7 separate regions of the Homo sapiens genome follow, and regions 1, 2, 3, 4, 6 and 7 are each linked to region 5. Evidence: promoter capture Hi-C in human tissues and cell types (Jung and others, 2019). All regions are on one chromosome and are shown on one strand. The core of a region is centred on a gene start or on the middle of the fragment in contact, and the rest is flanking DNA. Distances in the headings are between cores, read along the strand shown.

What was found. Contacts are between HindIII fragments. The study calls those that stand out against the background at their distance.
Region 1: a contact is called between the fragment with the promoter of SMIM18 here and the fragment with the promoter of DCTN6 in region 5, in 1 of the 25 tissues and cell types used here (mesenchymal stem cells).
Region 2: a fragment that was not itself captured here is called in contact with the fragment with the promoter of DCTN6 in region 5 in 2 of the 25 tissues and cell types used here (dorsolateral prefrontal cortex and mesenchymal stem cells).
Region 3: a contact is called between a fragment that was not itself captured here and the fragment with the promoter of DCTN6 in region 5, in 2 of the 25 tissues and cell types used here (heart left ventricle and mesendoderm cells).
Region 4: a fragment that was not itself captured here is called in contact with the fragment with the promoter of DCTN6 in region 5 in 1 of the 25 tissues and cell types used here (lymphoblastoid cells).
Region 6: a contact is called between a fragment that was not itself captured here and the fragment with the promoter of DCTN6 in region 5, in 1 of the 25 tissues and cell types used here (thymus).
Region 7: a fragment that was not itself captured here is called in contact with the fragment with the promoter of DCTN6 in region 5 in 2 of the 25 tissues and cell types used here (IMR-90 fibroblasts and hippocampus).

The regions. Positions count from the first base shown.
Region 1 is chr8:30,637,212-30,639,911 of GRCh38, reverse strand. SMIM18 (small integral membrane protein 18) reads right to left here and starts at 1,332. Exons shown (of 3, transcript NM_001206847.2): 1 at 1,273-1,332. All of the region lies in intron 2 of GTF2E2 (general transcription factor IIE subunit 2), which reads left to right. The HindIII fragment of the contact is 2,719 bases long and covers 1,027-2,700 here.
Region 2 is chr8:30,577,332-30,580,031 of GRCh38, reverse strand. It overlaps GTF2E2 (general transcription factor IIE subunit 2), which reads left to right. Exons shown (of 8, transcript NM_002095.6): 8 at 995-1,714. The coding sequence ends at 1,111. Among named protein-coding and RNA genes, the nearest start is that of SMIM18, 60 kb to the left of the region's middle. The HindIII fragment of the contact is 3,629 bases long and covers 1-2,700 here.
Region 3 is chr8:29,677,310-29,680,009 of GRCh38, reverse strand. No RefSeq gene overlaps it. Among named protein-coding and RNA genes, the nearest start is that of LINC00589, 69 kb to the left of the region's middle. The HindIII fragment of the contact is 5,662 bases long and covers 1-2,700 here.
Region 4 is chr8:29,741,544-29,744,243 of GRCh38, reverse strand. All of the region lies in intron 1 of LINC00589 (long intergenic non-protein coding RNA 589), which reads left to right. Among named protein-coding and RNA genes, the nearest start is that of LINC00589, 5.2 kb to the left of the region's middle. The HindIII fragment of the contact is 3,368 bases long and covers 1-2,700 here.
Region 5 is chr8:30,155,046-30,157,745 of GRCh38, reverse strand. It overlaps DCTN6 (dynactin subunit 6), which reads right to left and starts at 1,377. Exons shown (of 7, transcript NM_006571.4): 1 at 1,340-1,377. The coding sequence starts at 1,362. DCTN6-DT (DCTN6 divergent transcript) reads left to right here and starts at 1,086. Exons shown (of 1, transcript NR_186490.1): 1 at 1,086-1,917. LOC124901927 (a long non-coding RNA gene) reads left to right here. Exons shown (of 2, transcript XR_007060880.1): 2 at 1-574. RefSeq lists a silencer at 1,007-1,116 and enhancers at 1,177-1,326, 1,270-2,252, 2,077-2,286. The HindIII fragment of the contact is 3,226 bases long and covers 1-2,700 here.
Region 6 is chr8:29,702,509-29,705,208 of GRCh38, reverse strand. No RefSeq gene overlaps it. Among named protein-coding and RNA genes, the nearest start is that of LINC00589, 44 kb to the left of the region's middle. The HindIII fragment of the contact is 6,434 bases long and covers 1-2,700 here.
Region 7 is chr8:30,615,414-30,618,113 of GRCh38, reverse strand. The region is part of intron 3 of GTF2E2 (general transcription factor IIE subunit 2); the gene reads left to right. Among named protein-coding and RNA genes, the nearest start is that of SMIM18, 22 kb to the left of the region's middle. The HindIII fragment of the contact is 4,176 bases long and covers 1-2,700 here.

The DNA of each region.
Region 1 (2,700 bases), core at 83-2,582, 480 kb before region 5:
TCTAGATAATTAACCCCACTGTGCTGAACCTGGACAGATCTAGTATCTTATTACAGCAACCTTTGGGTTTTGCAGGGGATACTTTGCTCAGGCTAGCTGAATGCCGACTAAGAAAAGGAATAGAAATTATGAAGAAAAAAAAAACAAAAACCCTTTAAAGATTAAATAAACTTACCAGCAAGGTAAAAGGACAGAAGCTGGCTCTTTAGGTCCGATATAGTATATAGATGGAGTTCTAACATCTAGTAAATAACTAAATTTTCATGCTTGAATAGTATAAAATTAGAAATTTGGTCAGCAGTTAATATTAATTTTTAATAGACATGAATGATTGCTCTGAGCCACGAAGATAATCTTGTTACCTAGAAAGGTACTTACTCTCCTTTCTTAACCAGTTCTTCTTAGGACATATTTTTATTTTAAAATGCAGTTTATCAAAAGGACTTACTTTGTATTTATTTTGAGGATCAGTTTAAGAATGACTTCAACATTATATTTAAATGGTGTGATAAATTGATATCAAAAATGAAAGGCTATTTAAGAAGGTTTTTGTTTAATAGCATGACTTTATATTACGAGAGAGAAATTTCACAGTGAAGAAATACTTTAATTAAATGTTAAGGAAGTCTGAAGCTGTATAAATTATCTGTTCAGTGTAGTATAATGCAGCCCATATAGTGATACCTTTTATGATCTTTTATATAAAAATTAAAATTGTGATAATTTCTTGGCATTCTCTGCATCTACATTCAAAGCAAAATAAAAATAATTTTGAACTATTTTCTCATATTCTAAAAAATATAACAAACTTTCTTATAAGTAACTATTTTTTAGCAGCCAATATCATTTGCACATAGAATCAGAAAGCTTTAGTCTGGAATTCGCTTTTGATCTGGGTTTTTCTTTAAGAAAAATCCTTTGTTAAGACAGACCAAACTGCAGAAATGAAATCGCTCAGAGAAAATGAAATTAGCAAGTAACCAGTTAAAATAAAAAGCTATGGTTTACTCTGAGGTCTGGATATAGATCAGGTTCATGTAAAATGTAATGAATTTTCCATTAAGGCACAGATGGTAAGGGTGCTTATCAAATAGCACAAGGCAGTCTTCATATTTTCATAATAAAATCCTACCAAGCGGTGAAACGAATACATTGCTTTTTCTTGATATTTAGTAGGAGCAAAGCTTTCTGGTTGATTTTTCAGGGTAAAATATTTTCCTATTGCATCATAAGGACATGTACCACTAAATAAAAAAGATCATATAAACCTACCTCTTGTCTGAGAGGATGCTGCTGAAGCGATGGTATCGTCTGTTTGTAATGCAGTCTAGTGCACAGCCAAGATGGAGCTGTGCTTCTATTGGTTGAACCACAATGGAGCTGACAGTTTCCTCTATGTTCATTTGCATTAAGTCTTGCCACCCTTAAGAGTAAATCATTCATAAACTTGAATAGAGCTGTCTGGGGTATCAACTGTCATCCCTTCTCCTTTATTTTTTTGTTCTTAAGCTAAATTCCTATATAGGAATTTGTGAGTTACTAACAAATTGATGATTCTTTAGTGTTTCATTATAAAATTTCAGATCCTTCAGTGAATACTTCAGTGCTAGGGCTGGAAGATAATGTCGGGAAAGGTAGTAACCTAGGAAACAAACAGTCCAGGTTTGCCAGCCTGATATTTCCTTCAGGAAGTGTGCATAAAATCTTATAAATTTTTCTTGTTCTTCCTTTTCTTTCATTACTTGTTCCGTATATAATTTTTGCACTCTGGAAGTGATTATTTCCATGTGGTGGTTTGATTTAGGAGGAATTATGAAGGAAAATAATTGGCTTTTAGCTCTGCAAGTTGGAAGAGGGCTCATTTAGGTAAATACACTACCTGCATTCAAAAAATAGTCTCTAAAATGTAAATGGCAAAGTGATCTCCAGGTTGGCTCTTTAGAGACAGAGTATTTTTAGTTACTGTGTATTATTTAGAGTTATGGTCTAAGCACAACAGAATGAAGGTTTTTAATTATGGGAGTGGCTGTTAACAACAGCAGCAGACCAGGTACATGCTATGTAGACTTCTTTTTTAAAATTATAGATGAAGGCTGGGAGCGGTGGCCCATGCCTGTAATCCCAGCACTTTGAGAGGCTGAGTTGGGTGGATCACAGGGTCAGGAGTTCAAGACCAGCCTGGCCAAGATGGTGAAACCCCATCTCTACTAAAGTACAAAAATTAGCCAGGCACGGTGGCAGTCTCCTGTAATCCCAGCTATTCAGGAGGTTGAGGCAGGAGAATTGCTTGAACCCGAATGGCAGAGGTTGCAGTGAGTTGAGATCACACCACTGCTCTCCAGCCTGGGCGACAGAGTGAGACTCCATCTCAAATAAAATAAAATAAAATAAATAAAATAAAATTATAGATGAATTGGTACATTAGTTTCTGGGGCCATAAAGGAATGCATAGAAATATCTGTATTATAGTCATTCATTCAACAAATATTTATTGAGTGTTTACTAAGCTTGACATTGAGTTAGTAGTAGATGCCAGAGACATAAGCATCATGTCTCATAAGCACAACTGTTTGTGATTCATAATTGGCCATTTGTGTGGTGTTTGTCCTTAACACATTGTCATCTCTTTTTTCATAGTCTTCCCAGTTGTTTATACAGTTGCGTGGGGTAAGCTTAATATTATTTTACTTAAACAAGCAT
Region 2 (2,700 bases), core at 46-2,545, 420 kb before region 5:
TCCAGGGCCTGTGTGTTCCCCACTCTCCCACTCTAAGCTGCTACAAGCCCTTCTCCCTATTCTTAAAGGGATGCTGTGCCTTGATCTGCACAACCTTTCAGACTTGAACGGGGCCCTCCCCTGCTCCGTGAGCCTCGCCGTCCTGGTGCCTGGTTCTGCCATAGTAACTTTCAGGTCCTCTAGGAACCAGATATTTTTGTCCGTATAGTCTCTAAATCCTGCTCACAGGGGATGTTAGTAATTAAATGATGACTTTTACATTGCCTTGCACCAGCAAATAAAATCTGTAGTCTAAGAACAAAGCCCGGGGGGATGATTCACCAGCACCCTTGTTAGCAGTGCTGTGCTCCTCCCCCCTTTCCTTATCCACCGTCATGCTTCATAGCTTGTCACCTGTGTCTTTCTGGGGTGTGGGGTGGGCATGTGTGTTTGGTGAATTTTTAGGACTCACCTAAAGGGAAGCTTTATTGTCAATCTCTTTCCACAAATGAGTGTAATTGCAGCCCTTCATGATTTCCTATTATTGTCTCATTTGTTAATTTTTTTCATCATGTGATGCTAATATTTCAAGTATATAGAAAAGAATAGAGAATATTACAGACCTTCATGTGCTCCTCCTTTCTCAGGATTTTGCCATATTTTCTTCAGATCTTTTTAAAATCGGTAATGGTGGATACGTTTTTAAACCTGATGACAGAGACAGAGCTGAAGGGCTTCATCGTCCCTTTTGTTTGACTTAGTGCCTAGAACCATTTTGGCAGGTTTTTGTGCCTGCTCCTTCATTCCCGATGGCATCTGCATCTCAGGGGAACAAAGGCCCGGGGTCTGGTCAGGGCGTGTGCTGTGCCCCATGTGTGCTGCTGGGTGGCAGAGCAGGAGAAGGGTCCGAACCTGGCATCCTCAGCCACTGGCATCTGGGCATGCTCAGAACATCCTGGCCACACCACCCCTCAGAGCAGCTGTTGTTTCTAATTGTTTTTACCTTTTCCTTTAGGCCCCTATTCAGAGAAGGAAAAAGCCTGCTTCACAGAAAAAGCGACGCTTTAAGACTCATAACGAACACTTGGCTGGAGTGCTGAAGGATTACTCTGACATTACTTCCAGCAAATAGGGAACAGTTTTGCCCTGGAACAGAGTTACAGATACACAATCAAGAGTGTTCTTGCTGATGCTCGGGGTCTGAAGACTGTCTTCCTATCTGCTTCTTGCGGCTGAGGAGAGGAGCAGTTCAGTTTACAAAACAAGTGCAAATTACCAAACTCAAAGCTTATTTGAGTAGAATGGGCTCATGGGCAATGTGATGTTCCCTGTTAACCTTCTGTTACTCCCTGGGAGAAAGGCGCTGAGCGTGGCATGCAGGTGTCTTTGCTGTGTTTTTCTCCACTTCTAAATGGTTCCTGGTTCCTTTCTTCCTCGTTTGTTACTTTAGAGCAAGTTTGCCCATAGTCTTGAATGCAATATTTGTTTATTCCAAAAGAACATATTTATAATAAAATCACTGTAGAAGGATTTTTAAGATGTTAGTGAATTCTGTTTCTTTTCATTCTCGGAAATGGCAGGAAGCAGCTCCAGTCTCTGATTTCCATGGGTCACGTGCTGGGGATGTGATGAAGCCTGCAGTCTGCACTGTGTTGCTGAGCACATGGATTTCACCACTGGAACACAGGTGTGCTGCTTGTTAGCAAGCAGAGCAATAAAGATGTGCTGGATGTCATTGTTAATGTTTTCTTTTAAAAAGAAGCGTCAGTGTCAGCCGGGCAAGCTGGCTCACGCCTGTAATCCCAGCACTTTGGGAGGCTGAGGCAGGTGGATCACGAGGTTAAAAGATCGAGACCATCCCGGCCAACATGGTGAAACCCTGTCTCTACTAAAAATATAAAAATTAGCTGGGCGTTGGGGCATGTGCCTGTACTCCTAGCTACTTGGGAGGCTGAGGCAGGAGAATCACTTGAACCCGGGAGGCGGAGGTTGCAGTGAGCTGAGATCGTGCCACTGCACTCCAGCCTGGTGACAGAACGAGACTCCGTCTTAAAAAAAAAAAAAAAGTATCAGTGTCCAGCTTCTTGGGTTTGGTAAATTCCAGGATGGCAAGCCTTTGTAGTGTCTCCTCGTCAACCTGAACGTCAGCTATACCATGCCTCCACCCTCATGTGGCCTGACCGGAGATGGTTCTGGTGGAGATGCCCTCTGTCACCGGCCCAGCTCATGAGAGCCATTACCAAATATGTGAGTGTTCTTTAGAGTGAGGGTGACTCACGGGAAATTCACATGGTTCTGCTTTCTACGGCAAAGTTTGCATTTTCCTCACCTGCACTGTTTATGTTCTGCTGTGGTCCTTTGTGCTGGTGGTCATGGTCCTCCCGTCACAGCATGGGATAGTAGTGGATTAGGAAACGAGGTGTTGGTTCTCAGAAAAGGCATGATGGAAACCCAGAGCAGGAAGTGCTTTGTGCAGACGACAAAGAACCTTTTTTTGCTTTTTCAGTTGTTTTCTCTTTTCTACTTACCTCTCATCCCTTTACAGTGTTATCTGTTTGCTTTACCTCTTTCTTACCTCCAAGCCCCAAAACATGGCAGGAGAGGATGTAACTGAGGTTCCCACGATAATTTAGAACACAGGAAATACAGCCTGTCTTGCTTTGTATAAGGTTTTTTTCTGGTAAGGAAGAGCTTTAATATCTTATGGCATGAAACTAGCTT
Region 3 (2,700 bases), core at 38-2,537, 480 kb after region 5:
GTGCTACTGGGGGGTTGCTGATCCTAGGATCTCTCAGTGGACAGAGGTGGAGAGCACACACACACACACACACACTCTTGCATTTACATCTATATTTGTTTCTACGTCTATCTAAAAACAACTCTAATTTAACATTACTGGATCTATTCTAATTTTCTCTCTTTCCATGTTGGTAATTCCCTTCTTCAACAGTGAAGGCCTGGCTCCCATTGTCTTTAATATATTTATTTGACCCATCTCCCTCTATGTAGCCAATTTCCTGTGGTTGGGACCACAGCCAACCTACATTGTATGTGGGTTTCCTCCTCACCTTTCTCAGGCTTTTTCAGACACTCTGATCCAGACCACCCCACTGCTAGGAGAGTCTCCTGGTGGGGGACTCTATTACTTTGCATGAGGCTACCTTCTCACATGGCTGCCCTGCTGACACCCCATTGACTCCAGGGAAGGAAATGGAAGGCTGAGACAGGAGAAGACAAAGGAAAGAGAGAGGGAAGGATGGCGGTGGAGAGAAGAGAAAGGGAAAAGACATTCTTGCTTGGATCCCTACAGCATTCCTGTCTGATGGTTGAAGCTGGTACTATTCTCCTTGTCCAGGTGAGAAAATTGGTGTTGAAGGGTTAATGTCTTAACCGGAGCCTCACATGCAGAGGAGTGTAGAGCTGAGGACCACTCCTTGGTCTTTTGAGTCTAAGTCCAATTCTCTGACCTCAACACCATATTACCTATGTCCTGAAGGTCTCCCAGGGACATGTAGATATGCCAAGAAATGAAAATTACTATTTGAGTTAAAATGTGTCTGCAAGAAATGTAGTTGTAACAGTAAAAATGTGTTTTGGCTGCTGATGGTTTCGCTGTGTCCCCACCCAAATCTCATCTTGAATTATAGCTCCCATAATCTCCACATGTCATGGGAGAGACCCAGTGGGAGGTAATAGAATCATGAGGGCAGGCTTTTTCCATGCTGTTCTCATGATAGTGAATAAGTCTCACGAGACCTGATGGTTTTATAAAGGGCGGTTCCCCTACACATACTGTCTTGCCTGCCACCATGTAAGAGGCCTTTCCTACTCCTTTGCCTTCCACCATGATTGTGAGGCCTCCCCAGACATGTGGAACTGTGAGTCCATTAAAGCTCTTTTTCTTTATAAATTACCCAGTTTTGGGTATGTCTTTATTAGCAGTGTAAGAACCCACTAATGCAGCTTCTAATTCACAGAGATTCCTAATAGTCCCTGGAAGACCCCTGAAAAAAAAAAAAAGCACTAACTGTGTATCCTTGGGCGGTCAGCAGGGTGTAGACTCTCTCTCTCCAGCTCTTCCTTACTCTCTCCTTCAGAGAAAACAAGTTGAGCGCATCTTTTTTCCTCCCAGCAGAGGATCTTTCCTTAACATTTACCCCAGTCGGGACAACCTTTCAAGGTCTTTTCTGGAATATTCTGAGTTTGATCTCTGGGGACATAGAATGGCATTACTCAAAGGATGGTGGCAGCAGAAACATCTCCTGGGAACTTGTTAGAAATGCAAATTTTTTAGCTCAACCCAAGGCAACTGAAGCAGCATCTTTTGGGATGGAGCCCAGATCTTCCAGGTGATTCAAGTGCTCACCTGTTCTAGAGCTCTGGGCTGGGCTCTGAGATTCTACATTTCTACCAAGCTTCCAGTTGATGCTGATGCATAAGTCTGAGATCTACCAAATCAGAACCTGCATTTTAAGTACATCTAACAGTATTCAAATGTCCACTAAAGCACTGCTGTAAAATTCTCTCTTTTTAGTTGCATACATAGCCCTTGAGGCAAGTCAGAGACAAAATGCCTTCTGAGTTGTATTGCTTATTGACTGAAGTGAAATTAATAGGTATCTAAAGTAAATATCTTTTCCAAGTTGGTCCAATGTCATAAATTACTTTGGGATTAAAACTTTTTAAATGTCATACCCAATTGGGACCTTTGCATATGCTATTATCTCAACCTGGAATGATTTTTCTCTCCCTTCTTTTCCTAGATTTCCAAAAGACCTTGGCTCAGGTGTCACTTTTGCAGAAAAGCATTTACTGACTGTTGACTTGGCCAAATCCCTGTGCTGTGTTTCCTAGTACGGTGAGTTGCATTTTCACATGAACTCATGCCTACCTTCTCTTGTTTTATAAGCTTCATGAGGCAGGTACCATGTCTCATTTTTAAAAACTTTTATTTGGTGAACCACTTAGCACAATGCCTGGAAAGCAGTAGACTACTGATAAGCATCTGTTGAATGCAGGAGTGTGGTAGGCAGCTTCTAAGATAGCCCCTAGGGATCCCTTTCTCTTGGTATTCATGCCCTTGTATAAATCCCCTCATCTTGAATGTGGGTTGAATACTGTGACATTCATCTAATGAATAGAGTATGACAAAAGTAATGAACTACACTTTCAAGGCTAGGTTACAAAAAGTCTGTGCCTTCATTGTGCGTGCCTTCTCTTTCTCCCTTATTCAGCATTCTGAAGGAAGCCAGCTTCCATGTTGTGAACTTCCCTATAGAGAGGCCCACATGACAAGGAACTAATTGAGCTCATCAATAGACAGTGAGGAAATGAGGCCATCTAGCAATCATGTGAGTGAGCTTAAAAGGAGATCCTCCTTCAGTTGAGCCTTCAGATGAGACTCCAGCCTTGGCCAATACCTTCATTGCAGTCTTGGGAAAGACCCTGAGCTGTCTTT
Region 4 (2,700 bases), core at 40-2,539, 410 kb after region 5:
CAGATTTATTTATGGCCCCTAAGTTAGACCCCCTCCACATGCTGTTGGCTGAGAACAAGAGGGCTGCTATTTAGCAGTAGGATGATTTTTTTAAAAAATATAAAATCCTTGAAATGATTACATATTCCCAAAATTCAACTTGTAACTGTTTTACAAAACCAGAAGACTGTTCCACAATGCCTGTATGTGTGGTCATTAACTACAGTGGTCTGGGGCATGGAGCAGGATGTGGACACACCACACACTCCTACTGAGATTACAGTCAGGAGCTAGGCATTGCTCTTCATTTTGAGTTTAAAATAAAAAAGAAGACAAGACTGACAAATGAAATATTAATATGGAGCACCCGCCAACAGGTTCATAAAAATTAAGTACTCCTTTTGCCTCTTGCCTCCTCTGCATAGTTTCTCTTTTTGGAATCGAACCAGCTCTCCTTGTCATTATCCAATCGATATGGCCAATGGCAATCCTGGGCACTTGGAAATGACATTTATGTGCTCTCCAGCAGCTGCCATCCATCTCTCGCTTTTCCTGGGAGAGCACAGTCCCTGAGATGACCGAGACTCAGGGCGTTTATCTCCACTTTGATACTATTTCTACTTCATCCTGTGCCTCTGTTGACAAAACAGTCAAGTAGACAGAGTCCTACTTGATCCAGCCTCATGAGAAAAAGACTTCATTCTGCTTCAAATGTCTTCAGGACACATGTGTCAACTATCTGAGGTCCTTGGAAGAGAATCTAAATTCAGGCATGGGATATATCATGGTGATCAAGTTAATCTGCCTAATTTCTCTTCTCCACATGTCAGCAGATAGTAACAGGATATAAGTAAGGAAGACACTTGAAGGTTTTTAAGAGGACAGCATGTGTTTCAGACATGATCTCTCAGCTGTGGCAGGGGAGAGGTGTTAGGTGGAGGATAAAGGACAAGGCTTGGGAAGGTACAGATGGAGATAGAGGGTCCTGAAACACACAATGTGAAGCCGGGCTGTTCCATTGCCCTTTTTACCCCTTCCCCGCTGGGGCACAGCTTCACAGGACAGGGCTTCCCATTTCCTGCTACAGTGCAATTCTGACACCAACTACCAGAGTTGGTGCAGACTTTCCTGGTTGGAAGCACAGACCCCCAAAAAACTCCCCACCCTTTAGACCCCAGCCACAAGCCCTGGGGTTTCCAGGCCACCCACACATGATTGAAATACAAGCCACATTATTGATCTCATCTGCAGCCTTCCCCACTCCCCCAACCCCTCTAAGCATATGATTGGCGTTTCTGGCCTGGATAGTCCCTATGCTGAAACTGTCAAGGGCATAGTCACCTCACCTCACCAGCATGAACTCAGGCCTGGCCTTAGGGGCCCAGCATGAGTACCAAAGACACTCCTATCGCTCAGAACACTCCAAGGGTTTAGAAATTCCCACCCAGGAGCCTAGTCAAAGACCAGCCACATTCTTTGTTGTAGAACGTCTGCCTTTCTCCTCTGGAACTGAGACTTAAAAACAGAGGCCAAGTCACATTTTGTTTTACAAACTTGCTTTACCATGGGATTTCTTTTAGCTCAAACTCCCCAAAGCATTTAAAATCTAATAATAACTTCACTGCATTCGTGTGCTTGCCGAGAGACCGTTCTGCACATGGAGAGCACGGTTCCAGTCCCGGCTTATGGTTTCTTGGCAGGGGGACATTGTGTGGGCTGCCTTAGGGTGTGTGGCCCTGGGAAAATATTTTTACAGGGTCTCATCTCTATACAGAAATTTGAGTTACCTTAAAATCTTGGTGTCAGCACCATTCTAGTGCCTCACACAATCTCATGAAAGGATACTCTGCCGACCGGCAGGCATAATCTCTTGATGGGACACCCTCTTGGGTCTGGGCCCAACTGAGGACCCTGGGACAACCCCATAGGTGCAGGTCTTTAAGCTCCTTGGGTAGCTGGTCACCCCAGGGAAATGGGGTAAATTGAGTATTGGAGACACATGAAGGCCAAGGCCCCTAGGGGTCCCACTGCCCTTTAGGGATGGGAGGGCCTAAGGCATGGAGCAGAGCAGCCCCACCCCCACAAGTCCCTTGAGTTTGCCAGGTTCTCAGGATGTTTCTGGATGTTGGACGAATGCCTTAATCTCTGTGTGTCTCTTTCCTCATCTGTAGAATGGAGGTTATAATAGCAATGACTCCTTAGGGTTAATGGAAAGATAGAACCGAAGTAGAGCCTGGCATAAAATAAGTGCTTTTTTAAGGTATTAATTCCGTTTCATGGTTTTTTTTTTTTTTTTTTTTTTTTTTTTTTTTTTTTTTTAAGTCTTGCTCTGTCACCAGGCTGGAGTGCAGTGGCACGATCTCGGCTCACTGCAACCTCCGCCTCCCGGGTTCAGTGATTCCTCTGCCTCAGCCTCCCGAGTAGCTGGGACTACAGGTGCACGCCACCATGTTTTATGGGGTTTTATAAAAAATTAAATGTTAACCTTTAATCCACCCAACTCTTTAAATAACTTCCTATTTGAATTCACATTTCACTGATGAGGAAATTGGGATTTTTAGAAAATTAAAGTAATTTGTCCAAGGTCACATATATATCTGGTAAGTGTCTGAGTCAGAGTTTGAGCCCAGTTAAGTCTGACTCTACTGCCTGATTATTTTACTATATGCTCCACTATCCCTCAATTGCTCGAAACTCAAATTTATGTTATCTTTAAAAAAA
Region 5 (2,700 bases), core at 128-2,627:
TGGCTTTACTTATGCACTTGTCTCATCCCAGCCACCAACAGCCACCAACAGCCCCCAGCAATGAAGACTACCGGAGAAGAAGCCAAACTTCCTGTCCCCACATGTTTACAAAGGAGCTTGTCCACTCCACGCCTGGCAAAAAATGTCACAGTTCTAAGCTTATACACTATTGGTGGGAATATAAATTAGTTCATCTATTGAAAATAGTATGGTGATTTCTCAAAGGACTAAACACAAGTACCATTGGACCCAGCAATCCATATAGAGCTACCAATCCAAACGGAACTACCATTCGACCCAGGATCTACTCAAAGGAAACCATTGTATTAAAAAGACAACTGCACTCCTATGACTATCACTGTACTATTCACAATAGCAAAGTATGGAATCAACCTAAGTGTTCATCAACGGATGACTGGATAAAGGAAATGTGGTGTATCTATACGATGGAATACTACAGAGCCATCAAAAAGAAAGGAAACATGTCTTTTGCAACAACATGGATGGAACTGGAGGCCATTACCTTACGCGATAACTCAGAAATAAAATCAAATGCACATGTTCTCACTTTTAAGTGGGAGCTAAAATGAGTACACATAAACATAAAGAGGGAAATAACAGACACTGGGGACTCTAAAAGCAGCGAGGGTAGGAGGGGTTTGAGGGCTGAAAAATTACCCATCTGATACAATGTTCACTATTTGGGTGGTAAGTACACTAGAAGCCAACTTCACCATTACGCAATTTATCTATGCAACAAATCTGCGCAAGTACTCCTTGCATCTATATAATGTGTGTGTGTGTGTGTCACAGTTCAAGTCCAGGCGCGGCCCCCCTTTTGACAGCGACCGTAAATCCCTTTACACACCCCACCCTCCAGAGACAGGAAGGGCCTGGGGTGCGGCCAGCACTGGCGTGGGGGTCTCGCAACATGCAGCAGAGAATCCAGCGCCAAGCCGTGGGGTACAGCGGCGCCAAGCACCGCCGATTATGCGGGAGAAGGGAGCCGGCCTTCCCCAGGAAAAAGCTGACGTCACCCTCCCCTCACAGCCCCCCCCGCCCTCCCGGCCGGGAGACCCCCTCTGCGCAGGCGCATGTGGGGAGGGACGGCCAGACAGGAACAAAAACCTTCCAGGCAGCGACTCCGCGTCCCTTCTCAACCCTCCCCGCCCCCACTCCGTCGCCCCCTCCCTCAGTGGACGCCAGGTCTGGGCTTCAGGTACCTTCGGCCCGAATGCCCAGGATGAGACACCTTCTGAGTCGCCACCATTGGCGACCAGGAACAGGTTCCACCCCTACGGAAAGCTGAGAAAAGGCTTTTCTCAAGCAGCAAACCCACCTCTTTTGAGTCTTCTCCGCCATGGTACGGCCCCAATTGGAACGTAGATCGACACCACCGCCTGGGTAGAGCGATAATTCCACATGCGATTGGAGAGCCTGGCAGGGTTGGGGGAGGGGCGGAGCCGGGGTGGGGCGGGGACCCGGAAGCTTGCGACTCTTGTTTGCGTCGCGTCTGGGCGCACAGGACTGTACTTTTGGTAGCGGTGCGGGGCCGCCCGCGGACTTTAGCCCTGCATAGAGATGGGTAGACCCTAATTTGGAACAGCCATTGACTGGGCACAGGCCAGCACTTTGGGAGGCCGAGAGGCCGAGGCAGGAGGATCGCTTGAGGCCAGGAGTGCCAGACTGCGAGACTAGCCTGGGTAACATAGTGAGACCCTCTCTTCAAAAAAAAAAAAAAAAAAAAAAAAAAAAAGCCTGTCACGGTGGCCTGCGCCTGTACCCCAGCTACTCGAGAGGATCGCCTGAGCCCAGTGAAGCTGCAGCGAGCTGTGAGGATGCCACCGCACTCCGGCCTGGGCTAAAAAGCTAGATCGTGTCTCTGATAAAAGAATAAAAGCTGTTTATTGCAATCCAGTCCGCGTCATTATGCCCTCATTTTACCCACTCGCGTAGGCGTAATTACACCCTAAAGGTATTTCTCTGACCTCGCCGATGTCCTTTTCAGCCTGTCTTTCTCTACTCATTAGGGCTCCTTCTGGCCCTTTTCTCGCTCTATATGAGTGCATCCTTCCTATAGGTTAAGTGCCCTCTACCTGTTTGCTCTCTAATGAATGTCTCTGGTTCTGCCCTCTGTGCCGATCTTCACACCTGACATTCGGTTGACTAATTGACATCTCCGCTCAGAGTCGTATCGAACCTAAAACTTACAGAACATGACTTTCGATTAACACTGCCGTCCTCCCTGCAACCTGCTGCTTTTTTGATCCACACCATTTGCCTAGCTGCTCAAGCCAGACACTCAAGAGTCACCCTGGCACTCCTCACCCCTACATCTGTAATAGATCTGCAAGTTCTGCTTGTCCTACCTCGGGTCTCATGCTTACACTTTTGTCTACCGGACCATCTCTCTAATCTCAGCCGATGTGTCTCTCCCAGTTGTTCACTCATTCTGTACTTGGCCTCTGAAATCACACCTCCTCATCTCCCACCCCCAACCCTGATCCAAGTAGTTCTCTTGTAGTCAAAATCATCCTTTAAAAGACAAATTGAGGCCAGGCGCGTGGCTCAAACCGGTAATCCCAGCACTTTGGGGGGCCGAGATGGGAGGATCGCTTGAGGCCAGGAGTTGGAGACCAGCCTGGTCAACACAGCATGATCCCGTCTCTATATATTTTTTCTATAATGTATTTTTTTAAT
Region 6 (2,700 bases), core at 58-2,557, 450 kb after region 5:
AATGATAGCTATTGATGTGGATGTGATGAAAAGAGAACACTTTTACACTGCTGGTGGGAATGTAAACTAGTACAACCACTAAGGAAAACAATACGGAGAATCCTTAAATCCTACTACTAGGTATCTACCCAGAGGAAAATAAGTCATTATACGAAAAAGACAGCTGCACATGCATGTCTATAGCGCACGATTACCAATTGCAAAAATATGGAACCAACCAATGCACATCAACTAATAAGTGGATAAAGAAAATGTGGTATATGTACACCATGAAGTACTACTCAGCCATAAAACGGAATGAAATAATGGCCTTTGCAGCAACTTGGATGGAGCTAGAGGCCATTATTCTAAGTGAAGTAACTCAGGAATGGAAACCCAAATATTACATTTTCTTACTTACAAGTAGGAGCTAAGCCATGAGGATGCAAAGGCATAAGAATGTTGTAATGGACTTTGGGAACTCAGGGAGAAAAGTGGGAGGGGGGTGGGGGATAAAAGACTACACATTGGATATGGTGTACACTGCTCAGGTGATGGGTGCCCCCTTATCTTAGAAATCACTACTGAAGAACTTATCCATGTAACCAAAAACTACCTGCACCCTGAAAACTATTGAAATAAAAATGAATAAATAAAAATAAAAGAGGCCTGAGAGAGCTGCCTTGCCCTTTTGCCATGTGAGGACACATACAAGGCACCATCTGTGAGGAGTGGGTCCTCACCAGACACTGAATCTGCTAGTGCCTTGATCTTGGACTTCTCAGCCTCCAGAACTGTAAGCAATACATTTCTGTTCTTTATAAATTACCCAGTTTAAGGTATTTTGATATAGCAGCCTGAATAAACTAAGACAATTGGAGAATCTCAAATGTCAGAGTCTTTCAGTCTCTTTTTATGGGGTTAGTCAGCTTCCTTAGAGAAGCTCTTACAACTTGATATGGTTTGGGTCTGTGTCCCTGCCCAAATCTTATGTCAAACTGTAATCCCCCGTGTTGGAGGAGGGGCCTGGTGAGAGGTGACTTGATCATGGGAGCAGATTTCCCCCTTGCTTTTCTCATGATAGTGACTAAGTTCTCATGAGATCTGGTTGTTTAAAAGTGTGTAGCACCTCTCCCCTCTCTGTCTTCCACCTTCTCAAGCCATATGAAGTGTCAGCTTCCCCTTCACCTTCCACAATGAGTGAAGCTGAGCAGATGCTGCTATGCTTCCTTTACAGCCTGCAGAACCATGAGCCAATTAAGTGTCTTTTCTTTATAAACTACCCAGCATCAGTGTTTCTTTATAGTAATGCAAGAACAGATTAACACACAGCCTCATCCCTGGAGGTTAAGAGTCTCGGCAGGGGCTGTCAATTTTAGTATTTAAGCTTTGATTAATCTCCCTATTTTATTAAGTTACCCATGCCTTCACCTGTAGCTGATAACCCTAGTTCATAGGCTTCTTGTGACCTACCTCTTCACAGAATAAACAGCTGGTCTTCTGCCAGAGGTAGAGGACTTTTATTCACCTTTAGAGAATGAGAAATGATCTAAACGTCTAAGTGCCATATAAGTCCATTCTCGCACTGCTATAAAGAACTACGTGAGACTGGGTAATTTATGAAGAAAAGAGGTTTAATTGACTCATAGTTCCACAGGCTGTACAGGAGGCATGGCTGGGGAGACCTCAGGAAACTTAAAATCATGGTGGAAGGTGAAGGGGAAGCAAGCACATCTTCACATGGCCAGTGATTGAGAGAGAGAGAGAGAGCAAAGAGGGAAGTACTACACACTTTCAAACAACCAGACCTCATGAGAACTCACTCGCTATTACAAGAACAGCAAGGGGAAAGTCTGCCCCCATGATTCAATCACTTCCTACCAGGCTCCTCCTCCAACACATGGAGATTATGATTCAACATGAGATTTGGTTTTAGAAACAGAGCCAAACTATACCATTCTGCCTCTGGCCCCTCCCAAATCTCACATCCTTTTCACATTTCAAAACAAAATCATACCTTCCCAACAGTCCCCCAAAGTCTTAACTCATTCCAGCATTAACTCAAAAGTCCAAGTCTAAAGTCTCACCAGAGACAAGGCAAGTCCCTTCCATCTATGGGTCTGTAAAATCAAAGACAAGTTAGTTATTGCCAAGATACAAGGGGGGTACAGGTATTGGGTAAATGCTCTGGTTCCAAAAGGAAGAAATTGGCCAAAACAAAGGGACTACAGCCCTATGCAAGTCCAAAATACAGCAGGGCAGTCGTTAAACCTTAAAGCTTCAAAACCTCCTTTGACTCCATGTCTCACATCTGGGCCATGCTGATGCAAAGACTGAACCCTCAAGGCTTTGGGCAGCTCTTCCCCTGTGGCTTTGCAGGGTACATCCCCTGTGGCTGCTTTCATAAGCTGGCGGTGAGTGCATGCAACTTTTCCAGGTGCATGGTGCAAGGTGTTGGGTGGATCTACAATTCTGGGGTCTGGAGGACAGTGGCCCTCTTCTCAGAGCTCCAATAGGCACTGCCCCAGTGGGGACTCTGTGTGGGGGCTGCAGCCCCACATTTTCCCTCTGCACATTTTCCCTCTGTGCTGCCTTAGTAGAGGTTCTCCATGAGGGCTCTGCTCCTGCAGCAGACTTCTGCCTGGATATCAGGCATTTCGATACATCCTCTGAAATCTAGGTGGAGGCTCCCAAACCTCAACTCTCACACTCTGTGCACCT
Region 7 (2,700 bases), core at 48-2,547, 460 kb before region 5:
TGTTGGTCAGGCTGGTCTTGAACTCCTGGCCTCAAGATCCATCTGCCTCGGCCTCCCAAAGTGCTGGGATTACAGGCATGAGCCACTGTGCCCAGCCTAAGTAAAGCATAACTTTTAAATGGAAATTAAAGACAATTTTAATAAATGTTCTAAAGAATCATCACGAGGTACCCACTTTTGTGTCCCTGGGGTGTGTACACCCCACGTAGGAGACCACTGCTGTACTATAGCTGCCCGGCGTTTCCCCGTATTCTAGTTAATCATGTCGTCATTCAAGGTCTGTCCAGTTTTCTCTTTCATTTCTTCTGATTGAAGATGCCTTCCTGACAGATAGTTGTTTACCTAGCTTTTTTTTTTTTTTTGAGACAAGATCTGGTTCTGTCACCCAGGCTGGATGGAGTGCAGTGGCATGACCACAGCTCACTTGCAGCATCTGCCTCCTGGGCTCAAGCAGTCGTTACAGCCTGCCAAGGAACTGGGACTATAGGCGTGTGCCACCATACCTGATTAATTTTTGTATATATGCAATTTTTTGGTAGAGTCAGAGTTTTGCCATGTTGTCCAGGCTGGCCTCAATCTCCTGGGTTCAAGCAACCTGCCCACTTTGACCTTCCAATTTGCTGGGATTCAGGTGTGAGCCACTATGCCCGGCCATATCTAACTTTTGTAGCTTGTATGTTTAGCTTCTCCCCTCTATTGGGAGCTCTTCTGCTCTAAAGGCAGAAGTAGTTTGCATTTTATTGTGTGTCTCATTGCAGTACTCTCAGCACATAGTAGTTACCACTAAATATTTGAATGAATAAGTGAATGAATTAACAGCAAACGCTCAATGAATGGTTCTTTTGTGTGGTGTGTTAAGCTTATGTCTCTATCTGCTGTCTGTACCTTCTAGTTTGGCGAAGTGGCTATTTAGTTTTCCAGGGCCTGACTGAAGCCCAATGAGGTTCAGTAACCTGCTCAATGTGAGGGAACTTGGAGCTTGGGTTTTTTTTTCTTTTGAAGAGTTATTTTTGTTTTGGATAAATAACATATCTCTTTGTACAAAAAGTAAAGTTGTATAATAAGGTACAATGAAGGAGTCTTGTTCTCACCTGTCATCCTACTCATTTTCTCCCCTCTTGTGCTTTCTACAGGTAACCTCTTTTATTAGTTTCTTGTGATTTTTTTTCCAGTGGTTCTTTATGCAGAAACAAAGTTCAAATGTATACTTATTTCTACCCTTCCCTATATACAAGGGTTCATAGTGCATATGTTTTTTAACATACATACTTTTTTCTTATTTACTTTAAAAAACACTTTTTTTTTTAGAGCAGTTTTAGGTTCACAGCAAAATTGATTGGAAAATACAGAATTCTCATCCATTCCCTGCCCATCCCCCCACAGCTTCCTCCACTATCAACATCCTGCACCAGAAGAGTACATTTGTGACAGTCAATGAACCTACGTTGACAAATTACCACTCAAAGTCCATAGTTTACATGAGTTCACCCTTAGTGGTGTTCTTTCTGTGGGTTTGGACAAGTGTATAATGACCTATGTCCACCACTCTAGTATCCTCCTGAGTATTTTCACTGCCCTAAAAATTCTCAGGGCTCTGCTTGTTCATCCTCTCCCCTCAACCCTTGGCAGCCACTAAACTTTTTTTAATTTTTAATTTTTAAAATTATTTATTTATTTTTAAAACAGAGTCTTGCTCTGTTGCCAGGCTGGAATGCAATGGCTTGATCTTGGCTCACTGCAACCTCCGCCTCCCAGGTTCAAGTGATTCCCCTGCCTCAGCCTCCCGAGTAGCTGAGACTACAGGCACCCGCTACCACGCCTGGCTAATTTTTTGTATTTTAGTAGAGATGGGATTTCACCATGTTGGCCAGGATGGTCTCGATCTCCTTACCTTGTGGCCTGCTTCGTTTTCCCAAAGTGCTGGGATTACAGGTGTGAACCACTGCATCTGGCCTGCAGCCACTAAACTTTTTATTGTCTCCATGGTTTTTGCCTTTTCCGGAATGTCAACAGTTGGAGCCATACAGTATGTATCCTTTTCAGATTGGCTTCTTTCCCTTAGTAATATGTATTTAAGGTTTCTCCATGTTTTTTTCATAGCTTGATAGCTCATTTCGTTTTAGCACTGGATAGTATTCCATCGTCTGGATATACCACGGTTTATTTACCCACTCACCTACTGAAGGACATCTTGGTTGCTTCCAGCTTTTGGCAATTATGGATAAAGCTGTAATAAGCATCCTTAGTGGATTTTTGTATGTACATAATTTTTTGGCTCATTTGGGTAAATACCAAGGATCGTGATTGCTAGATTGATCAAATGGTAAGAGTGTGTTTAGTGTTGTAAGAAACTGCTGAACTGTCTTCCACAGTAGCTGTACCATTTAGCATACTCACCAGTAATGAATGACAGCTCCTGTTCCTTTGCATCCTCTCTAGCTTTTGGTATCTACGTGTGTGTGTGTGTTTTCTTTGGATAGGCATGATACATATGTTTTTTAACTTATTAATTTGTCTTGGACATCTTTTCAAATTAGCACATAGAGAACTTTTACATTTACTTTGTGAACATCTGTGTAGTGGAATGGATGTGCTGTAGTTAATCTGTCTTCTAATATGGACGCTTGGGTTATTTCTAATATTTTCCTTTTATGAACAATGCTACAGTGACCATAAGTCACTTTTCTGTGTGGTACTGGT